Regions from separate parts of the Homo sapiens genome. Here regions 2, 3 and 4 are each linked to region 1. The links are contacts of gene promoters, found by promoter capture Hi-C in blood cells and fetal thymus (Javierre and others, 2016). All regions are on one chromosome and are shown on one strand. The core of a region is centred on a gene start or on the middle of the fragment in contact, and the rest is flanking DNA. Distances in the headings are between cores, read along the strand shown.

Region 1 (4,479 bases), core at 80-2,579:
GGCCCTGCCGCGCGGTGGCTGCTGGGTGCCGCACGCCTTCCCATCCTCCTCCTCTCCCCTCCCCCATCCCTCCCCGCCCCCTCGGCCGCTCCGCTCCCTGGCGTGACTCGGCACTGAGAGTCCCGGGAGAAGACTCGGCGGTCGCCACCTCTTCTGTCCAGGCCTCGGCCTTCCTGAGCATCTCTCCTTCCTCTCCCAGATCGTCTTCTCCTTCAGTTTCAAAGCCAGTGGCGTCGCGGCCACCCTGCCGGGCTCTCTGTGAGGATGGTGGGGGTGAAGCCCGTCGGGAGCGACCCGGATTTCCAGCCAGAGCTGAGCGGCGCGGGCTCCAGACTCGCCGTGGTCAAGTTCACCATGAGAGGGTGAGGCCAGGCTCGAGCTCTGTGGGTCCCCGTCTGTCCTTCCTTGCTTTCCTTTCACTCTTTGTTGGCCCTGGTTTCCTAGCCGTCTGCTGCCCCGGAGTGTCCGGCAGTCGCCGCAGCCCCAGGAGCTGCCGGAATTAGGCCTCGTTTCTCGGGTGTGAACCCCCATTTATGCACAGGGGTTCCTAGACGGGCTCGGGGGCCTGGCTGGCCGGCTTCTCCAGCTCAGGAGATTTCTCACCTGCTCCTTTTCAATTCTTTGACAAACTGGTTTTGGGGGTGGCCCGCCCCTATTCCTTCCAGCCTGTGGGAGTCTCCGCAGCCACCCTTGCCTGAGCCTGACCCCTTCTTTCTGCAGAGCCAGCTGTCATTTGCATCTCCAGAGCTCCAAAAGCTTAATTTACCGAACACTTTGTTTCTCTTCACCACCTACATCTCTCTAAAGCCTTTGAAGATTCAGATGGGGCGATCTAACTAATATGCGTAGCTCTGAGTCCTGAATTTCTGCTAATGCATTTCGAACTAAGTTAACGTTGGGTTAGGGTGCTTTTTAAATTATTTGAACTTTTTTCTTCCTCGTTCGGCCACTAACTTGTAGCTTAGGCTCCCCTATGTATGCGATTGCAACTGGTCACACACGACAGTACATATATAATATATTTCAGGTGGACAGTTGGCCGGATGTCTTAGTTTGACCCGGCTCTGTTTTTTCACTTAAGAGGACAGGGATCTTGAAAAATGTTAACTGTCTTTGGTAAATATCAACAAAATTATAGGTCGTAGAAAAGGTGGACCTTTTATAGTGGATGTGTAGTAAAGTTCCTTTGTAAGAATGACATGTTGGAACTCGGCGTTGAGAACCAAGATTTCAGCGTGTGTGTGTGTTTCACAGATCTCTCCTTGTGTATGTCGATAGTATTTAGTTAGAAGTATGAGAGGTTTCCGCTTTATTTTCCTTGACCCCTTGGCGTTATTTATACATCTAACTTGGAGCAGTCTACTGCTGGTATCACTGTTTATGTAACACACTTTCTTGTCCAAATAACTGTATAAACACAAAATTCCATTTTGAATTTCAGAGCAAAAAACAAAGTTTCTACTAGATGGTTCACTAAATGTTGAGTATATAAATGGTGGCATTAGGATTATATCGTTTTAGGGAATGGATGCAGATAGATATGAAAACAAGTTAAGACTTATTTTTGGACCAGTCTCTCTTACACTGAATTGAAAAAGGATAGTACCTTGCATTTCATATGGTGGGCTAGAGTACCCATATGATATACGGAATTTTGCATTTACTAAATTTAAAAGGATAAGTGATGTCATATATATAAAACACCTAAAAGGAATGTTAGAATTCTATAAATGTGTCTTCTCATTTTTAGCAATTTTGTGATGTCTGTATTCTTAATAATAGGGGAATACCTGTAGTACATTAAGTATCTAGGCCACAGTAGAAAAGGGAAGATAGGATTTCAATAAGGAACCTCACCTCACTTTTAGTTCACTTATTCTAATTCTGGCCCGTCGAAGCTTTTATATTTTTGTCCCTCAATGATATATTGTTTTTCTCCCTTACCATAGCAGTGGGAGAGATAATAAAATAATAAATAAATATTGATTGAAGTGAGAAAACTGGGGAAACATTGCTGCGAAGGAAGGTTTTTTCTATCAGTGTGGTGTCACTTAAGCATAAGCATAACTGCAGACATTGATTGGTAAGGAACTGTTACATTTAAAAAGGTATTTTAGTGGAATTAAAATTTTTTTTCTTTGTAAAAACCGAGGGAAAATTAATGTTTGGATTTAGAGTAAGTTCAAAAGCATATTTATATTACGTTTACAAATCTGGTAAGATTATTGTATTTACCTTTAATATTCCTCGAACTTATTGGCCATTAATACATCCTGTCTAAACTCATTGTCAATAGAACCCCAGAATTATGTATATGACGGGTCAGTATTAGACTCAGAAACAACTGTATTCAGTAAAATCTTGTAAGAATCCTCTTAGATCAAAGTTAATGCTGTCCCAGTTTAGACTGAGGGCATAGTTTCTCCAGCACCTATTTCATTTCCTTTCCAACCCTATTTTAAACCTTTTTTCTTTTTTTTTAACCTCTATGCTTTATGCACTCTCAGTCTAAATTTTACTAAAATGATACATAGATTGTTCTCCTGTGTAAGAATCTTTAGTGGCTTATGATAAAATATATATAACATAAAATTGACCATTTAGCCATTTGTAAGAGTATAATTCATTGGCATTAAGGACAGTCAGCCCTCTGTATCCATGGATTGAACCAAATGTGGATAGAAAATATTTGGAGAAAAAAAATTGCATTTGTGCTGATCATGTACACACTTTTTTCTTGTCATTATTTTCTAAACAATACAGTATAACAACTATTTACATAGCATTTACCTTAGGCATTATAAGTAATCTAGAGATGATTTAAAGTATATGGGAGAATGGTCGTAGGTTATGTGCAGATACCATGTCATTTTCTATTAGGCCCTTGAGCATCTGTGATTTAGTGTCTTGCTGGAGGTCCTGAAACTAATCCCCCAGATACCCAGACATGACTATACAGTCACAATGTTGTGCCACCATCACCACTGTTTCCTATAACTTTAGACAGAAATTCTATATCCATTAAAGGATAACTCCCCATCCTTACTTCTCCAAAGGGACAAAACTGTACCCATTAAGCAGTAATTTGCCCCTCCCCATCTACCTCCTTGGTAACTTCTATTCTGCTTTCTGTCTCTATGAATTTGTCAATTTGTGGCACCTAATATAAGTGAAATCGTAACAATATTTGTCCTTTTGTTTTTGACTTCACTTAGCATAGTATTTTCAAGGTTCATCCATGTCTTAGTATGTCTCAGAATTTCATTCTTCTTTATAACTGCATAACATAATCCATTTATTTATATGGCAAATTTTGTATACCTGTTCATTTTTTGATGGACATTCCAGTTGTGTCTTCCTTTGGCTGTTGTGGATAATGCTGCTAGGGGACATTGCTATGCGGGGATCCCTGCTTACTTGCTTGCTTTTCTTTTTTCTTATTTGTTAGAGACAGGGTCTTGCTCTGTTGCCCAGGCTGGAGTGCAGTTTTGAGACGATGGCTCACTGCAGCATTGAATTCCTGGCCTCAAGCAATCCTCCCACATCAGCCTCTCAAGTAAATGGGACTACAGACACATACCACCATGCCCGCTAATTTATTTTTTGTTTTAGAGACTAAGTCTCACTTTGTTGCCCAGGCTGGTCTAAATCCTGGCTTCAAGCGACCCTCCCACGTCAGCATCCCAAATTGCTGGGGTTACAGGTGTGAGTCACTGCGCTGGGCCTTCTGTGCCCATTTTTGAATTGAGTGGTTTGTTTTTGGGTTGAGTTGCAGGAGTTCTTTATATATGCCGGATGTTAATATTTAATTTGCAAATACTTTGTCCCATTCTTTGGGTTGTCTTTTTCTTGATGGTGTCCTTTGATGCATGAGTTTTAAATTTTGATGAAGTCCAATTTATCTATACTTTTGTTGCCTGTGCTTTTGGTGTCATATTCAAGAAATCATTGCAAGATTCAATGTCATGAAGATTTCTCCCTATGTTTTCATCTAAGAGTTTTATAGTTTTAGCTCTTAAGTTTAGGTCCTTGATCCATTTTGAGTTAATTTTGGTATATGTCATAAAGTTAGGGTCCAGTTCATTTTTTGGCATGTGGATATCCAATTTTTCCAACACCGTTTATCGAAAACACTGTCTTTTCCTCATTGAATGATCAGCACCCTTTTCCCAGAGTATTTTTTAAGGATTAAAATAGTCAACGCTTACATATTCCTTAGTCTGTGTAAGGAACTTGTTTAAGCTCTTATATTGACTCAATTCATTCCTCAGAATAACCCTAACAGCTATCCTTGTTTTACAGTTGAGGACATTGAGTCACAGAGAGGTTAAATAATTTGTTTAAGGTCCCGTTAATAAATGCATCGTTTGAATTATAAAGTGCTGTTCTTGATCTTTCCAGCCTAAGGAGAAAAGAAATGCACGTTCATCTCTGTGTATCTGCACAGAGCCTGACAATTTTCAATATGCCTTTCCTTAA
Region 2 (4,479 bases), core at 1,465-3,964, 2.7 Mb before region 1:
AAAATCTGAGCTTAATTTTTGGAAATTGCCTCAGGCACTAGAGGGTAGTAGGAAATCCCTCCTCATTGTGTTGTACAAAATTTGCAATACGGTATTGCCCTGAAGGTAAAACATCACTTAATTGTAAGGAATTTCCCCTACATGGATTACTTCAAAAACACAGATTTTAAAATTCACTGGCCCAGAGTTCCTGGGGCCTGGAGTAAAAGCATTCTGATCCTTGAAACTTCAGTTTGCCAGGCCCAGTTTCTCAATTTCGCTATTTGTAAAATGGTCTTATCTAACTCAAACCGAAAAGCTCTCAGTTCTGAAGGAAAAATGCTATAAAATTTAAAGTTTAACAACTTAGACAAAACAACAAGCAAGATTCCCAGACATGACACACAAAAAACCCTTACGGGGGAAAATAGTAAATTGAGCTATATTAAAATTATAAGTATCTATTCACTAAAAGACAACATTAAGAGAGTGAAAAGTCATCCCACGAAGTGGGTGCAAATATTCGCTATATGTATATATCCAAGCAGAGACAGGTATTCAGAATAAAGAGTTTCTACAAGCTAACAAAAAAAGTCAGACAGCTGAAGCCCTCACATACTGCTGATGGCAGTGTAAATTAGCACAACCACTCTGAAAATTTGGCAGGATCTACTATGACCCAGCAACTCTACTCCTAGTTACATACCCAGTAGAAATTTTTTTTTATTATACTTTAAGTTCTAGGGTACATGTGCACAACGTGCAGGTTTGTTACATATGTATACATGTGCCATGTTGGTGTGCTGCACCCATTAACTCTAGAAATGTGTGTTTTTTAAAAAAAAAATCTGGATGCTGGTTGCATGGGAGGTATTCATTTTGGGAAAAATTCATTGAGTTACATTCTTAAGGCTGGCATAATTTTCTCTATATAATATGCTTCAATAAAACAGTTTTTTTTTTAAGAAACAGCTTCACAGAACATAAAGATTTACATTTATGGTTCAGCAAAATTACAAATATTTACTTGTATTATGCTTGAAATTCAGGTCCCTCATGAGTTCAAATCATGCGTAATGAATTGAAAATACTTAATATACATAATGTTTAACATAAAACGGTTCTTAAGATTGAAGGCTTCAATGATAGAATGGCTGGAATTGAAACCTACCTCTGCCACTTACTGTGTGACATTGGGCAAATTATTTAATCTATGCTTCTGTTTCCTCATCTGTAAATGGAAATATTAATGGCATCTACCTTAGAGGGCTGCTGTCAGCATTCAATAAGTTAACATATGTTGAAGGCTTAGTGCAGTTACACACAGAAAGCACTCAGTAAGTGTTTGCCATTTTTATAACATTAATGTTTGTTTAACAAATATTTATGGAATCTTCACTCTGTGCAAGGCATAGAGCTGGTTGCCAGAGCAATGAGAGAACCAAAGAAAATAAAATGATTAAATCCTATGGGTTGAAAACCATGGAGAGTCCAGGGCAATGACGCACATACACCATACAGTGGATAAATGTTTGTTACTGCTGCTGCTGAGATAGCAGTAAGTATGGTACTTTCATTTAAATTACATCTCGAGACTAGCAGGCGGAAAGCCTTAAATCCATATTCAACTTGAAGGTTTTATTTGAGCACTAGAAAGAGATTTAACAGTAATGGCCCATGAATCCGAAGATGGGATTCAACTTCCAAAACTGGGAAGTTAATGAAAAATAAGTTTAAGTAATGCGGGTATTGAGTCCCTAGGGCTAGTGTGGCGTTCATGTAGCCCACACGAACAGAGCTAATAAAAAGCCATGTGTAAAAACAATATAAATCATACTGCTGTTTCTTGGACTTGAAAAACTCATCATGACACATTTTTGAAAAAACAAAACTTTGGATTACCATGAATATTTTGACGATATTTTTTCCTAAGCAAGGGAAAGAGGAGTCCCCTTTAAAATATAGAACGTATTCATTGAGTGGAAGACCGATCCTATATCAAATGTCCAGGTTCTACAGACGCCTGGGTCCATAGCACATTATCCCTCTCACCAAAACCAAACCAAACCAAAGTCAGTTTCATTTGAATGCACTCTTGCCATGGTTTCAAAATTTGGAAAGCTCTTGGAATTAAATTTTGAGATGTAAAGGCTGGCTGACAAATTCACAGAAACCCTCTTTCCGACACCAACTTATAAATCCTAAGGCATCCTACAACCCCGTGGGTGCTGGTTTCTAGTTTGCAACGCTCTAACATAGCTTGGTAGAGCTCAGTGGGCTGGGACCATAAGCATTCGGGATTGTGCCACTGAAAAACTGATGTCACATCAAAAGGAACACCTTTCTTCTAATATACTAAAAAGGTTTTGTACAGGCTGGGTCCAGAGGTCTTAGGGCTAGCCAATTCCTGCTCCCAGGTATTCTAAGAAGCCGGAGAAAGCTCCCTGCAGGTAAGGACCCATCGGCGCTTCCCGCACTCTGCCGCGCGGGAAGCGAAGGTTGGAGTCCTTTCCCCACCCCCGGAGGGTGGGCGGGGCCGAAGGACCGCACCGCCCCAGACCCGCCCCCTGCGCGTGGCCCCGCCCACAGCTGCTCCTGGCCGTGCGGCCGCGCGGAAAGCGGAGGCCGGGGGCGGGGCTCACCCCTTGCCCTTGGGGGTCCCCCGGGCTCTGCCAATCAGCGAGCGCCCTGTTGGCCATCCGCAGCCATCCGCGCCCCTCCCTCTCCCGCCCTCCTCCGCGTTCCAGAATCCAAGATGGCGGGATCCAGGCAAAGGGGTCTCCGGGCCAGAGTTCGGCCGCTGTTCTGCGCCTTGCTGCTGTCACTCGGTCGCTTCGTCCGGGGCGACGGCGTGGGAGGAGACCCCGCGGTCGCGTTGCCACATCGCCGTTTCGAGTACAAATACAGCTTCAAGGGGCCGCACCTGGTGCAGAGCGACGGGACCGTGCCCTTCTGGGCCCACGCGGGGAGTAAGCCGGAGCAGAGGGCTGGGGGCCGGGTTCCTCTCCCCCTTCTGCTGCCTCTTCGCCTTTCATCCGCGGCTACCCTGGTGTGCTGAGGTTCCCGTTCCAGCAGCTGCACACCATATGCGCTGTGGAGGGGACCCTCCTGGCAGCCCCTCCGCCGGGTCCCTCCTGGTTCGCACGGTTCCCTCCGCTTGTCCCCGAGTCTTTCCCTCACCCATTCTGTTCTCTCTCACCCGCCTGCTGTCTTCCCTTCTTTGATCTCGTCGGTACTTTCCGTTGGATCTAGAGGTGTTTGGTTACCTCCTACACTTCCTAGCACTCAAACTTGCTTCTAGGTATCATGTTTCACAACGCCACGTCTCTAGGAGAAATGTGCCCTACCCCCAGCCATCCCAACCTGAGACATGTTCTAGAAGCCCCCTTACTTCCTTTCCCGCTTCCACCCCCCACCCCCGATCCCCGATTTCTTTGCTCCGGTGTTAGCAATGGTTAATGCTTCGCTTGAACCCCATGCCCACTGACGGCTCCTGAGATGGCATATAGTAGTATTAGAGTAATTTTTTAAGTCTTTGTATGTCAGAAGACATTCTTATACTGTTGGAACTACACATTTTCCTCTCAGTGACTTGGTGTGGTCTTTGATCTTTTCTCTCGTAGTAACACATTATGTAACTTTTTAGGAGAAGGGATATATTTTTAGGGATTGATTGTTTCTGAACCTGAGACTAAGAATAGCATTACATTTTTAGCCCTTTAAAAAAATTGGAAGCATTGAAATAATCTTGGGTTCATATTTTATTCACTCTCTGTGTTTGGCACTTTTGTAGATAAGAGAGCCTTGCTAGAGCATTTACTTACGTGAAAGAAAACATATCTGCACTTTTTAGTGCTGATGTGTCACTGCTGACTAAGGAGTCAATCGTAGCACTTGGCATGACATAAGCTCTGTTCAGTGACCATCAGATATACCCGTTGAACAAGTGGCAAATGCCTTTATATGAGATGAGGAGCTCTGGCAGTTTGAATTCTATCTTTGTGTGTGATTAATCTTTTTTTTTTTTTTTTTTTTTACTATAAGGTTTAGGGTACATGTGCACAACGTGCAGGTTGGTTAGTATGTATACATTTGCCATGTTGGTGTGCTGCACCCATTAACTAGTCATTTAACATTAGGTATATCTCCTAATGCTATCCCTCCCACCTCCCCCATAAGTAATCTTTTATATAAGGTTTTTATACATCACTTTAGATTATCCAGTTCTTGAAACAAAATGTTTCATTTCTAGAAAGTAATTACTGAATAGGAAGCACCCTTTTAGGAAGCGCTATTTCTCTCAAATTAATGTGTAATTGAAAGGTATAGATTTTAATTTGACTTAATGACCAAGTCATTAAGTAGTTGAAGTAGAGTGCAGTTATTTCGTTACTCAGCAGTCATTTATTATGTGCCCATGCAGCAAGGGTATATTACTGGGCATTTGTTATCAAGGTATCTCTATTCTTGATACACAAAGGTGATGCAAATGATATCAAA
Region 3 (4,479 bases), core at 732-3,231, 2.4 Mb after region 1:
ATTATGTGTGAAAATCAGAGTACTCTCTTATGTCATACAAACTTTAATATCATTTTTTTCCTTTATTCCTTCAGTGGAACCTTAAGTATTGGCATTCCTCAAGATTCAGTTCTTGATCCTCTTTCCTTTTATTATTAACCACGCAAGCCCTTCCTTGGAGAGCTTACTTACTTCCAGGGCCTCCTTCAACTGTCACTTTCACAAATGACTTTTTTTTTTTGAGACGGAGTCTCGCTCGGTTGCCAGGCTGGAGTGCAGTAGCGGGATCTCGACTCACTGCAATCTCCGCCTCCCGTGTTCAAGCGATTCTCTTGCCTCAGCCTCCCGAGTAGCTGGGATTACAGGCGCACGCCAGCACGCCCAGCTAATTTTTGTATTTTAATAGAGATGGGGTTTGACCATGTTGGCCAGAATGGTCTCTATCTCTAGACCTCGTGATCCGCCGGCCTCGGCCTCCCAAAGTGCTGGGATTACAGAAGTAAGCCACCGCGCCCGGCCACAAATGACTTCTTTTTTTTTTTTTGAGACAGAGTCTCGCTCTGTCTGCCAGGCTGGAGTGCAGTGGCGTGATCCAGTTCACTGCAAGCTCCGCCTCCCGGGTTCACGCCATTCTCCTGCCTCAGCCTCCGGAGCAGCTGGGACTACGGGCGCCCGCCACCACGCCCAGCCAATTTTCTGCATTTTTAGTAGAGACGGAGTTTCATCGTGTTAGCCAGGCTGGTCTTGAACTCCTGACCTCAGGTGATCTGCCCGCCTCTGCCTCCCAAAGTGTTGGGATTACAGGCGTGAGCCACCGCGCCCGGCCCACAGATGACTTCTAAATGAATGTCTCCAGTACTGATCTCCTCAGAACTCATTTCTTGATGATTTTTTACATTCACATTTCTAAATTTCTTGTAGGAAACCACAAATTAGTGTCTTTCAACTAAAGGACATTAAAAGAAGACTAAGGTCAGGTTTAGAGACAGACAAGTTTGTGTGTATGAGTTAATGTTTGCATATACTGCAAAGATAAACCAAATTAATTTTAGATTTTTGTTGCTTTATATTAATCAACTTTTTCTATACGTTAAACTTGGTCCTCAGTTTTTAGGGCATATGAGTATAGAAACCCAAGATAGCTTATCATCAGGCTGATAACATGTGCTTTACATTTTTCAATCTTCCAAATATTTCATAATATATTATCTTGAATATCAATAGCACACTTCTATAAGTGTTCGACAACTTATAGAAAATATGCATTTCTAAAATTCAAGTTGGCAGACCGAAAAGAATACCACACAGTTTCCTAAAGGCTTGTGACAGTAAGTTAGGCTGGACTTTCAACATAATGGAATATTTACCAAATAAAAGGCCACTGATTTTTGTATTAGACAAAGACATCTGGAAATTTCTAGATGGATTTAGGGATTCTGGTCATTCTAAGGAGAATCTAGAGGTAAGCCCCATCTGACTCATGGGCATATTCCAAGTTATCATTTCCTTTCCTACATCCTTACAAGGTTCCAGGAGAATCTGTCAATGGCTCTGAAGCCAGGCTCAGGAGGGAACTGGTATTCAGCGAATGGGACACTTTGCTTCATTCCTTCATTATAAGCTCCCCTGCAAGCTTTGTGCAGAGGGGCGGGAAAAGGGGCTATCACCCCCTTAAATGAATAGCCGAGTTGGTATGTAATATAAGATCTATTTTGCTTGTTATTCATTAATTGGGAAGCAAACATAGGTAAAATCACATAATGGTGGAGGTTACCCCGTTTGAAACAAACTAACCACAGTCACTATGACACCCCCAGCTGGTGGCTAGCCCGACCAACCTTCCCAGCTCCGCGCGCCCAGTGGGGGCCGGAAAAGCGCGGGAGGGGGCGTGGCCCCGAGAAGGCGGAGACAAGATGGCCGCCCATAGCGCTTGGAGGACCTAAGAGGCGGTGGCCGGGGCCACGCCCCGGGCAGGAGGGCCGCTCTGTGCGCGCCCGCTCTATGATGCTTGCGCGCGTCCCCCGCGCGCCGCGCTGCGGGCGGGGCGGGTCTCCGGGATTCCAAGGGCTCGGTTACGGAAGAAGCGCAGCGCCGGCTGGGGAGGGGGCTGGATGCGCGCGCACCCGGGGGGAGGCCGCTGCTGCCCGGAGCAGGAGGAGGGGGAGAGTGCGGCGGGCGGCAGCGGCGCTGGCGGCGACTCCGCCATAGAGCAGGGGGGCCAGGGCAGCGCGCTCGCCCCGTCCCCGGTGAGCGGCGTGCGCAGGGAAGGCGCTCGGGGCGGCGGCCGTGGCCGGGGGCGGTGGAAGCAGGCGGGCCGGGGCGGCGGCGTCTGTGGCCGTGGCCGGGGCCGGGGCCGTGGCCGGGGACGGGGACGGGGCCGGGGCCGGGGCCGCGGCCGTCCCCCGAGTGGCGGCAGCGGCCTTGGCGGCGACGGCGGCGGCTGCGGCGGCGGCGGCAGCGGTGGCGGCGGCGCCCCCCGGCGGGAGCCGGTCCCTTTCCCGTCGGGGAGCGCGGGGCCGGGGCCCAGGGGACCCCGGGCCACGGAGAGCGGGAAGAGGATGGATTGCCCGGCCCTCCCCCCCGGATGGAAGAAGGAGGAAGTGATCCGAAAATCTGGGCTAAGTGCTGGCAAGAGCGATGTCTACTACTTCAGGTACCTCCCTGGGGGCGGGGAGGGGGTGGCGGGGTCAGGCCGGGGTCAGGGGTCAAGAGCGGGCCTGGGCAGAGGATGAGCGCTGGGGCCCGGGGGGCATGTGGCAGGGACAGGCTGGTTTGGTGGTGGAAGGTGGCGGAACCCTTGGGTGAGAGTTGACCCCAGTGCGGTGGGAGGCAGTGTCAAAAGGTGAGGGCCCGCAGGAGGGCATCTTATGTGGAAGGCGTCGGGGAAGATGGTTTGCGAAGAAAGGGTTAGCCTGGCAGGGATGGTTAGTCCACTGAAGGGTTAAAAGGAGGTGTAATTCATCGAAACTATAAAACCCAGTCACTGTTGGCTCCTGTCCCAGCCTGTCCCAGATTCATCATCACAAGTGTTAAGCATGCACATGTGGAAGAATGAGCTATCTACAGTAACAAGGTTTCATTTACTTCATCCAAGAAAGTTTTGTATAAAGCAGCTATTTGGAATGCCTGAAGTTTTTTTGGAACTTCTTGGTATTGCAGAATATACTCTTTTGAAACTGACACACTGTACTAAGTTTTTAGACTCCTAGACCAAAATTTGCTCCCCAGGGAACATTTGTCAATGTCTGGAGACATTTTCGGTTCTCACACCTGGGGAGGGTGTGATACTGGCATCTAGTGGGTAGAGGCCAGAGATGCTGCTACATATTCGATAATACAAAGGAAAGCTGCCACAACAAAGAATGATCTGGCCCAAATTGTCACCTGTGCTGAGGTTGAGACATCCTGTTTTAAATGATTCAAGGTTTTTCACCTTAGTGTAATCTTGCAATCCCGTGGTCATGCTGCTGATGTCTTCAGTTTGTGTGACCCAGTAAGCTCAAGAAAGTGCCTATGGCAATTGACATCCGTGGACTTAATACACATTTACTAAATTTTGTAATAAGCCATGCTATTGATAGAAGATAATATAAACTTGTATTCAGTAGTTTGGAGGTACGTGTTTGTGGACTGACTGAAGCATTTTTCAGGGAATGTATATGGGTATTGGAGACAATTGTCATTTAGCTATTGTAATAATGTTATAAAGGATTTCCTGTCCTCTTCAAGTAGCTCTGGGAAAATGTGTCTGTACACATACCATGCTTATGAACTAAAAATACTTTTAACTAGATTGAAAAGGTTAAAGAAATGTACATACACATATATACATACATATGCACACACAAGAATGTGATCACTGCTGGTGCAGCATGTAAATACGAACACATTCCTGATGGTTGCTATATATGGATGAGTAGTTGTAGTAAGTTCACTTCACCTCAACTAAAAAATAAAAGTGATGTTTCATAGAACTTAGTCTTCCACTTGATCTGGACCCTCATCTTGAAACCTCATATGATAAAATGGAGAACTTCTTTTAAACATAAGAAGGTAGTAATCACCTGTGGTCCCAGTTACGGGGCTGGGGCGAGAGAATCTCTTGAGTCCAGGAGTTCGAGGCTGCAATGACCTATGATTGTGCCTGGGCAATAGAGTGAAACCCCATCTCTTTAAAGAAAAAAAAGAAAAAGTGTGATAGTCTTGGTTTGTATTTCCTCATCATTAAATATTTGATTTAATGGTAAGAAAGTTATTGTGAGCACTTTCACAGGTCCTCCCTCAGGCTGTGGGGCCAGGATTTGGTAGCTGGTGCTGAGAGAAAACCTTTGTTGGCATCCTTGCCCTGGGACTGTGCCAGTGGCAGCTGTCATTCAATGGGACAATTTCTTCTGATTAAAAAAAAAGGTTATTGTGGTTAAAAAAAGATTAGTTTTCTCAAGTTCATTAGTTTCATTTAGTGCCGTTCACAATTGTTCGTTTTCTAGTATTCTTTCATTA
Region 4 (4,479 bases), core at 1,413-3,912, 2.4 Mb after region 1:
TTATTAAGCCAAAGTGGGCACAAGAGGGTAGCAGCAAGTGAACCAAAAATGTTCTTTATGCTTACACTAAAAGAGGAATCTTTCCTGCATGCATGAAAGAAAATCTCTTTATCTTTCTCAATTTAAAATATGAATAATAAAAATGATAAAACAAGCTAGCATATCAACAAATATCCAATATAAAATTTATTTTGGCTTTTATTTAAAAAGATGCTTATGTTTTTACGGCAAGTTTGCTGTCTTAATAATACTTAGGTTTATGTTCAAAATCCAACTAGTTAGTTAGATGTTACACAATTTAAGAGATAATTTCAGAAAGGGGAGGACAGACGAACACTTCCACTAAAATGTAATAAGAGGCTGTTTTTGAGAACAAAGCCTGTAAAATTTCAAATAGTGAGAAAAAGAAATCTGACCAGCAAACTAAGCTACTAACCAGCACAGAAAAGTAACATTTATTCTGCTTTCTCTTCATTTGTTCTGCCGACTACACTATTCTCAGATTCACCACTTATTAAATGAGGCTTGTAAAATTTACACTTGGTAGTGAAGCAAAAATGACCAGCTATAAAGCACTGTAAGAACTGCTTCCAAAATCTTTCTTAATAAGGTTAATAAATCAGTATATAATGAGCATGATGAGTTGCTAATCTAATCATTATGCAATTAAAAATATTATAAATCTACAGTTACCTAAAGGTTTGTCTTTTAGCTCTGGATTTGAGATCATTTCTACTTGTGCATAAAAGCAATCCAGATCCACATGTACTATGACTCTGGATGAAGCATTTGGTGTGGGCAACACTTGATCATGAACTCCTGCACAATATGCAAAGAAATAAAAAGAAATTCAGGCTGCTTATTATCTCTGAGCAACTGACAGTTCCTTAAAACATGGTACCTGTGAAGGAAGAATGCAGAGTGACGTGTTTTCTCCTGGATTATGTGTGAAAGCATCGAAAAATTACAAAGACATGAAACTCCACTTAGGGTAGGGTCTTCAGTCCTCTTAATTACTGTTTGTGCACTGCGTTTTTCTCAGGATAGTAATAAGTTTGAAGGGAAAAAATGTGATAAATAATGGATGATGAAAGAGCTAATACTATCACCTGGAAGTTTATAGTAGCTCTTAGTGTAAACCAGAAGGGGCAGAAAAGTTGAAATGACGTTGATTTTCACACAGCTTGAAAATTATTCTAAGCAGCATGCCCTTACATTTAAAACAAACAAACCAACAAAAACTGAAATACAAAATGGCAAAAGACAACCAGTGGGTACAAGTGTGGGCTATTTTTAGCTCCCATGGCAGCAGGATTATCTGGTTTAATGCTAAATCGCCAGTGCCTAAAACAGTGTCTAGGACATAACAGACCACCAATAAATATTCACTAAATTGAAAGACTGAATAGTTCTTTGATTTTAAAAAGTTGTTAGGTCATTATTTGTCGGGGAGGGAATGACAGAGGCGACTCCTTCTCTCAACACTGGCTAAAAACAAGACAGGCAAAATACAATACAATATTCTGGTTGGGATCCTGGAACAGAAAATGAACGTTAGCAGAAAAACTGGTAGAATATTAATAAAGCGTGTAGTTCAATTAATAGTATTATACCAATGTTAATTTCCTAGTTTTGACAAATGTACTGAGTTTATGTTAACACTAGGGGGATCTAGCTCTGCAACTTTCAGGTAAACCTAAAGTTCCAAAATTTAAAAGGCCAGGCACGATGGCTAACTACTGTAATCCCAATACTTTTCGAAGCTGAGGTGGAAGGATCGCTTGTGGCTGGAGTTTGAGACCAGCCTGGACAACACAGCTACACCTGATCTAAAAAAATCTGAAAATCAGCCAGGTGTGGTGGCACGTGCCTGCTGTCCCAGCTACTCGGGACGGAGAGGCTGGGGCGGAGGATCACTTGAGCCCAGGGGTTCGAGGCTGCAGGGAGACCTTGTCTCTAAATTAATGAATGAAACAAAACCAGCAGGAAATGAGAACCGGTGCCTTTACATCCAGGCCCTGAGGTGGGCGGTACAAGGTAAAGACCAGAGCTGGAAGTGGGTCACCGGAGACGTGACCACAGCGGACCTGACTCCGCCTAGGTTCTGAGCCATCCCTTCCTGCCAGGACTGAGATCCGGGTCCCACCTTCTGCCAAATGAGCGACAAGGTCCTCAACTTCTCCAAAGTTAAAAGGCCCAGAAGCCTCTGCAGTTTTCGTCGGGCTGGCTGAGGGATTCCCGCCCCACCTCGCCCCTCACAGAGGAAAGGACGGCGCAGATAAACCCTCGACACGTATTTGTAGTGTGGACGCGCCCCACCCTACTCCTGCTGGGTGAAGCCATTCCTCTAGAGGTACCCGCCGCGTAACACAAGGCAGAGGGAGGCAGCCCTCTCTTAGAGGAGCCGAGTGGGGCGGGGACGGTCGCGCCCCAGTGGCCGCCGCCCCGAGCGTCCGCCTGCCCCACCCTTCTCATTTACACCCAAGGAGGCCGCTGGCTCCTCTGGCTGCGGCGCACCCTGCGAGCTGGCTGCCGCCCCCACGTCCGCCAGTTCCATGGCCCAGGCCTCGGCGTCTTCCTCGTCGTCGTCGCCGCCGCCTTCCTCCTCCGGCTCCACCCCCAGCTTCTCCATCCCGCCGCTGCCAACCGCAGCGCTACTTCCGGCCGCTTCCGCCTGGTCTCCAGGGAAACCGGGGGACTACAGTCTCCAGTCGCTCTGTGCCTCTCGCCTGCGCAGTCGTGGCCGACCAGCCTGTTGCCCAGAGTGACACGCATGCCAAGGAATCGTGGAGGCCCACGTGCGGGAGTTTTTTCCCGCCGGGTGGAGGCCGGAAGCGGAGAGATTGAAAGCACAAATGGCTATTTTTTTTTTTTTTGAGACGGAGTTTCGTTCTTGTTGCTCAGGCTGGAGTGGGCAACAGTGACGCAATACCGGCTCACTGCAACCTCTGCCTCCCGGATTCAAGCGATTCTCCTGCCTCAGCCTCCCAAGTAGCTGGGATTAACAGGCATGCGCCATCACGCCCAGCTAATTTTTTTGTATTTAGTAGAGACGAGGTTTCACCATGTTGGTCAGGCTGGTTTCGAACTCCTGTCCTCAGGTGATCCACCCTCCTAGGCCTCCCAAAGTGTTGAGATCACAGGCATGAGCCACTGCGCCTGGCCTTTTTTTTTTTTTCTTGAAGGCTTTGGAGTTAGGCCCACATCACAAATTTTAGCGTTTTGTCTTTGTTCCATTCGGCTGTTAGCAAACTTGCAAATCCCTAGACCTGAGTGATTAATGTGATGGGGTGGGAAGGAGTGTAACTGATAGTAAAGACACAGGTGGCCTTGTAAACTCATATGATTAGCAACTATGTTAAGGTTTGCTGTGTTTTGTTTGTTGTTGTTTTATTTAAAGACACTGTGACGAATTCAACCACAGAATTTTTAACATCAAAACTGAATAGGATTTGATACATGAGTGTTGTAGTCAGACAAAATCTCCAATCCAGACCCTCCATCATGCTGTGTGACTTTGGGCAGGTTACATAACTGCTGTGAGCCTCAGTTGCTCTACTCTTAAAAAAAAAAAAAAGTATTGAGATTGAATGAATGGATAAAAGCTACCATATACTGTAATATCCTAATGTATATAAAACATGTGGCACATAGGAAGTGCTCAGTAAATGTCTATTCTCCTTGCCTTCTATTAGGATACCATGTGTGCATGTGTGTGTTGGTGTGTGTATGTGTATGTTTTACAATAGAGGAAATTTGGAAATTCCTCCATGCCTGTATGTATGTATATACACTATATCTGTATAAATACCCAAATTAACACATATGTTTGGTTTTTTATATGATTCTACTTCTTATCAAATAAAATATTAGAACCTTGAGAAACCCTTTAAAGCAGCCATTCCCAACCTTTTTGGCACCAGGGGCTGGTTTCATGGAAGACAATTTTTCCACAGACAGAAGGGAGGGGGATGGTTTTGGGATGATCCAAGTGCGTTACATTTGTTGTGCACTTTATTTCTATTATTATTACATTTTAATAGATAATGAGGTAGAATCAGTGGGAGCCCTGAGCGTGTTTTCCTGCAACTAGACTGTCCCATCTGGGGTGATGGGAGATAGTGATAGATCATCAGGCATTAGATTCTCATAAGAAGCATGCAACCTAGATCCCTCGCATGCGAGTTCACAGTAGCGTTCAGGCTCCTGTGAGAATCTAATGCCGCTGCTGATCTGACAAGAAGCAGTGCTCAGGCAGTCATGCCAGTAGTGGAGAGTGGCTGTGAATACAGATGAAGCTGCACTCCCGGGCCCGCTACTCACCTCCTGCTATGCGGCATGGTTCTTAACAGGCCAGGGACTGGTTCTGGTCCATGGCCTGGGGACTGGGGACCCCTGCTTTAAAGGATATGTTGATGCATCCATGAAGAAAAGGGAATAACAAGCAGAGCTGGGTCTCAGTGGTTTGGAAACAAAATC

What was found. Contacts are between HindIII fragments. The CHiCAGO score rates a contact against its expected background, and 5 or more counts as called.
Region 2: a contact is called between the fragment with the promoter of LMAN1 here and a fragment that was not itself captured in region 1, in 1 of 17 cell types (non-activated CD4 T cells). The highest score is 5.7, in non-activated CD4 T cells.
Region 3: the fragment with the promoter of MBD2 here is called in contact with a fragment that was not itself captured in region 1 in 14 of 17 cell types (total B cells, naive CD8 T cells, total CD4 T cells and 11 more); the score reaches 19.1 in total B cells.
Region 4: a contact is called between the fragment with the promoter of POLI here and a fragment that was not itself captured in region 1, in 3 of 17 cell types (activated CD4 T cells, fetal thymus and monocytes). The highest score is 6.4, in activated CD4 T cells.

Annotation. Positions count from the first base shown.
Region 1 is chr18:56,634,226-56,638,704 of GRCh38, reverse strand. TXNL1 (thioredoxin like 1) reads left to right here and starts at 113. Exons shown (of 8, transcript NM_004786.3): 1 at 113-362. The coding sequence starts at 265. RefSeq lists enhancers at 1-75, 235-294, 76-1,061 and a silencer at 1-84. The HindIII fragment of the contact is 1,142 bases long and covers 759-1,900 here.
Region 2 is chr18:59,357,500-59,361,978 of GRCh38, reverse strand. LMAN1 (lectin, mannose binding 1) reads left to right here and starts at 2,714. Exons shown (of 13, transcript NM_005570.4): 1 at 2,714-2,948. The coding sequence starts at 2,735. RefSeq lists a silencer at 2,430-2,729 and enhancers at 2,760-2,949, 3,140-3,189, 3,200-3,299. The HindIII fragment of the contact is 14,570 bases long and covers 1-4,479 here.
Region 3 is chr18:54,222,171-54,226,649 of GRCh38, reverse strand. MBD2 (methyl-CpG binding domain protein 2) reads left to right here and starts at 1,981. Exons shown (of 7, transcript NM_003927.5): 1 at 1,981-2,632. The coding sequence starts at 2,091. SNORA37 (small nucleolar RNA, H/ACA box 37) reads left to right here and starts at 4,238; the gene lies at 4,238-4,366. RefSeq lists enhancers at 57-597, 598-1,140 and a silencer at 1,891-2,280. The HindIII fragment of the contact is 9,949 bases long and covers 1,615-4,479 here.
Region 4 is chr18:54,267,700-54,272,178 of GRCh38, reverse strand. POLI (DNA polymerase iota) reads right to left here and starts at 2,662. Exons shown (of 10, transcript NM_007195.3): 1 at 2,518-2,662; 2 at 694-819. The coding sequence starts at 2,632. It overlaps LOC124904307 (a long non-coding RNA gene), which reads left to right and starts at 2,274. Exons shown (of 2, transcript XR_007066379.1): 1 at 2,274-2,353. RefSeq lists enhancers at 2,181-2,230, 2,761-2,890, 3,151-3,300 and a silencer at 2,301-2,550. The HindIII fragment of the contact is 5,901 bases long and covers 1-4,479 here.